2 separate regions of the Homo sapiens genome follow, and region 2 is linked to region 1. Evidence: promoter capture Hi-C in human tissues and cell types (Jung and others, 2019). All regions are on one chromosome and are shown on one strand. The core of a region is centred on a gene start or on the middle of the fragment in contact, and the rest is flanking DNA. Distances in the headings are between cores, read along the strand shown.

Evidence for each region. The method cuts DNA at HindIII sites, captures the fragments that hold promoters and counts their contacts. A contact is called where the count stands out against the background at its distance.
Region 2: a fragment that was not itself captured here is called in contact with the fragment with the promoter of IFNA5 in region 1 in 1 of the 25 tissues and cell types used here (lymphoblastoid cells).

Annotation. Positions count from the first base shown.
Region 1 is chr9:21,304,049-21,306,570 of GRCh38, reverse strand. IFNA5 (interferon alpha 5) reads left to right here and starts at 1,258. Exons shown (of 1, transcript NM_002169.3): 1 at 1,258-2,245. The coding sequence starts at 1,315. The coding sequence ends at 1,884. The region is part of intron 2 of LOC107987053 (a long non-coding RNA gene); the gene reads right to left. The HindIII fragment of the contact is 6,884 bases long and covers 1-2,522 here.
Region 2 is chr9:21,526,608-21,529,129 of GRCh38, reverse strand. All of the region lies in intron 1 of MIR31HG (MIR31 host gene), which reads left to right. Among named protein-coding and RNA genes, the nearest start is that of MIR31, 16 kb to the right of the region's middle. The HindIII fragment of the contact is 3,478 bases long and covers 1-2,522 here.

The DNA.
Region 1 (2,522 bases), core at 9-2,508:
CTGGTTCAAGCAATTCTCCTGCCTCAGCCTCCCGAGTAGCTGGGATTACAGGCACGTGCCACCACGCCCAGCTAATTTTTGTATTTTTAGTAGAGACGGGCTTTCACCATGTTGTCCAGGAGGGTCTTGATCTCCTGACCTTGTAATCCACCCACCTCAGCCTCCCAAAGTGCTGGGATTACAGATGTGAGCCACCGCGCCTGGCCTAATTTGGTTTTCTTGTAACATCAGAAGCATTGACCTTGAGTTCATGGAAGATACACAAAAGGTATACAAGATCAGTGCTACAAGCATATGGCAAATGGGTGGCTGTTATTGGAGGACTTTCCAAGATTTATTAGATGTCAAAGTCATATCATGTGAGGTGGCCTCTGTATACATATGAGCTGTCATTTGCTGTCTTGTGTATGTTGCTTATATTTGATCCTGAGCATTTATGACTGTGTTTTGAGTTTTGAGGTTTCAATAAAAATACTTTATCTTTTACTATTTAATTCTACTAAAGTTGTTCAACACATCAATAATTATGTCAAGCACTGAAGAGAAAAAGGTTTTTGACAATATCTAGATCAATATCTAGAAGCTAGTGAATTTTTTAAATTTCCCTATGAAGCAAAATTGAAAGTACCCTAAAAATAAATGTTACAAATAATTTCAATTTTAATAGTCTTTAGCTATTTTGAATTTTTAAATATTTCATTATACTAGGCAATATTATATATTTTCATAATTTGTTAATTTACTTATTTAATCTGACACACTACAATTTATATAAGTAAATAAATCACATTGTTACTTAAACAAATTGAACTATGAAGTTAAATATCCATAAATTGTAAATTTAATTATTAACTTTTACCTTAGAATTTTCATTTGCTCATTCTTAATCCGGGACTGAATAAATTCTATTTTACATTCTATTACGCTGCTTTTAAAGCATTAAAGAAGTACAATATTCTCTCTCGATAATGGGTACTGTAATGTATATACATCAGCCAACACATAGTATATCTGTGTTATTAAAATTTAATGGGATTTTTAGTTAGAAAAAAAATTTCTAAAAAGCATATGTGGCAGAGGAAGATGAGGTAATAATGTAAAAATAAATAAACTGAGAAACACTCCTGTACATCTATGTAGAAAGAGCATAAAAGAAAGCAAAAAGAGAAGTAGAAAGTAACACAAGGCATTCAGAAAATGGAAACTCGTATGTGACCTTTTTAAGATCTGTGCACAAAACAAGGTCTTCAGAGAAGAGCCCAAGGTTCAGGGTCACTCAATCTCAACAGCCCAGAAGCATCTGCAACCTCCCCAATGGCCTTGCCCTTTGTTTTACTGATGGCCCTGGTGGTGCTCAACTGCAAGTCAATCTGTTCTCTGGGCTGTGATCTGCCTCAGACCCACAGCCTGAGTAACAGGAGGACTTTGATGATAATGGCACAAATGGGAAGAATCTCTCCTTTCTCCTGCCTGAAGGACAGACATGACTTTGGATTTCCTCAGGAGGAGTTTGATGGCAACCAGTTCCAGAAGGCTCAAGCCATCTCTGTCCTCCATGAGATGATCCAGCAGACCTTCAATCTCTTCAGCACAAAGGACTCATCTGCTACTTGGGATGAGACACTTCTAGACAAATTCTACACTGAACTTTACCAGCAGCTGAATGACCTGGAAGCCTGTATGATGCAGGAGGTTGGAGTGGAAGACACTCCTCTGATGAATGTGGACTCTATCCTGACTGTGAGAAAATACTTTCAAAGAATCACCCTCTATCTGACAGAGAAGAAATACAGCCCTTGTGCATGGGAGGTTGTCAGAGCAGAAATCATGAGATCCTTCTCTTTATCAGCAAACTTGCAAGAAAGATTAAGGAGGAAGGAATGAAAACTGGTTCAACATCGAAATGATTCTCATTGACTAGTACACCATTTCACACTTCTTGAGTTCTGCCGTTTCAAATATTAATTTCTGCTATATCCATGACTTGAGTTGAATCAAAATTTTCAAACGTTTCACACGTGTTAAGCAACACTTCTTTAGCTCCACAGGGACAAAATCTTTACAGATGATCATGCCAATCTATCTATTCTATCTATTTATCTATCTGTCTGTCTTCTATCTAATCTATTTAAATATTTATTTATTTATAAGATTTAAATTATTTTAAATTATGTTTGTTCAGGTAATATTACATCCACCTTTACTTTGTGGCTAATATAATAAAATATGTTCTTTATGTTTTGTCAACTGATTATTTTGCTTTGTTCATTAGATTTTTACTATTAATTGTTTGTTTATTCTTTAAAATGAAACTCCAAGCCTGATTGTATAACTTGATTAAAAACAGATGGTACAGTTCAGTTACCTATCATTATTTTATTCAAATTTTAAGTAAAGGAAGATTTTTCTTAAGTGAACATAATAAATACAATTCCTGTTCCCTTGTATCTTTGATTTTTGCCAGAAATTTAACAACAATAATTATGATTAATATGAGTTATGTTAAATGCTATAATGTGAGC
Region 2 (2,522 bases), core at 9-2,508, 220 kb before region 1:
CAACTCCTTGTGAAGATGCCGTGAATATTGTTGGAATGACAATAAAGGATTTAGAATATTCCATAAACTTAGTTGATAAAGCAGTTGCAGTGTTTGAGAAGATTGACTCCAGTTTTGAAGGAAATCTTACTATGGGCAAAATGCTAAATGGCATCCCATGCTATTTCTTTAAAGGAGAGTTGATTAATGCTGTTTTAGTTAAGAAATTGCAGGGAGAGAGCAAGATGGCCAACCAGATGGACCCAGGAAGAACAGCTACCACTGATGGACCAAGACACTGGCGCACACTCCTAACAGATATTCAGAGGGAAGGCACCGAGAGTAGATGGAAGGAAGACACAGAAGCTGGGCTGAAGTGGGAGGAAGCTTGGAATTCTGCACAGGATTACCATGCACCGGGACTCATTCCTGGCCCTTAAAGACTCCAGGGGAACTGGTGAGTTGAACTGGCAAGGAGCAAGCCACTTTCACCACGGGCCTCTGGCTGCTTAGAGAAGTGGTAGGAGCCTCATGCCAGCTGAAGTGGAGCCCAGAGCTCTTGGTGTGGGAGTGTCTGTAGTAGAGCACTGCCAGGGAAGCCCATCTCCCTAGGCTCGACTTGCTCCCATAGGAGACCTTAGCCCTAGGGGAACTGTTGGACCTGAACTCTGCAGGGTGGTCTTACCCACCATATGGCGCCAGTCTGATCTGAGCACCACTTGGTGTGCTGGCCTCTCCTAGGTCCCAGCCTGGCCACACCTACTTGCAGGGCAGCCTCGGGTACCCTGGGGGCCCACATCATAGCTTCTGCACTGGTGGACCCTGCCTGACTAGTGGAGAGCTCCAGCAGAGCAACCCCCACAGCCACACACCAGCCCACCCACACCCTCCCCGCACAGCCACTTCCCCAGGGCCCAAAGCAACCTCCCACATTGCTTTGCCAGCACGTGTGTATGGGAGCAGGTTTTGCCACCTTTGTTCTGTCAGTGTGCCTGTGTGCGTGCACCCTCCTCTGCCACTGCCGCAGTGGGGTTGCACTCTGCTCTTTCTTCCCCTGCCAGACCACCATTGCAGTCAGAGTGTTGGTGGACCCATGGAAAATCAGCCCCACTCCCACTAGCACCACATCCTTGCACCAACACTGACACAGAAGTGAAACTAGGCACAGAGAACAGCAGACCCTCCCCTACCCTGAGAAACCACCCCTTCATGCAGTTCACAGAGAATGCATACAGACCTGTACCCACCAGCACCCTGCCCCTATGCATCCCCAAGACAGCACAATCATGTGTAATAATCACCAGCAGGGGTCCCCAACCTCTGGAACCCTGCTGTCTCCACCACTGTGGTGAACACCTGCACGGAGGCAGGCACCCAGTAACCCACTGGTACCCTGTCACAGCTGATGAGCATGTACCCTGCTGCGCTGTCACTGCTGCTGGCATATGCAAATGAGGAAGAATGCTGCTGCCACTGCACTATGAGCACACAGTCCTGAGGTTGGGAGCTGAGTGTTGGCCCCCTAAAACCTTCCAGAAACAAACCAGTAGACTAAATCCACCTTATACCACAAACTCTCAAGGTCATCAAGTAAGATAAAAGGAAAATAAAAACATCCAACAGTCAGCAACTTCAAAGATTGAAGAAGCACCAGCTCATAAAAATGAGAAAGAACCAGCAGAAGAGCACTGACAACTCAAAAGCCAGAGTACCTTCTTTCCTATAAACAACTGCAAGTGTTCTGAACTGGGCTGAGATAGCTGAAATGACAGAAATAAAATTCAAAATATGGATAGGAACAAAGATCACTGGGCTTCAGGGCACATTGAAACCCAATCCAAGGAAGCTAAGAATCACAGTAAAACAGTGCAGGAGCTGACAGACACAATGGCCAGTGTAGAAAAGAACATAACCACCCTAATAGAGCTGAAAAACACACTACAAGAATTTCATGGTGCAGTCACAATTATTAATAGCAGAGCAGAACAAGAGGAGGAAAGAATCAGAGCTTGAAGACTGGCTTTCTGAAATAAGACAGTCAGACAAGAATAGAGAATAAAGAATGGAAATGAATGAACAAAACCTCTGAAAAATATGGAGTTCTGTAAAGAGACCAAATCTGTGACCCATTGATGTCCCTGATTGGAAAGAGATGAGGAGAGTATGAGCAACTTGTAAAATGTATTTCAGGATATCATCCATGGAAACACTTCCAACCTAGGTAGGGAAGCCAACATTCAAATTCAGGAAGTGCAGAGAACCCTAGTAAGGTACTTCACAAGAAGATCATCCCCAAGACACATAATTATCAGATTCTCCAAGGTCAAAATGAAAGAGCAAATGTTAAAGGCAGCTAGAAAGAAAGGTCAGGTCACCTACATAGGGAAGCCTATCACACTAAGAGCAGATCTCTCAGCAGAAACCCTACAAACCAAAAGAGATTGGGGACCAATATTCAACATTCCTAAAAAAATTCTAACCCAGAATTTCATATCTTGTCAAACGAGTCTTCATAAGCAAAGGAGAAATAAGATCCTTTCCAA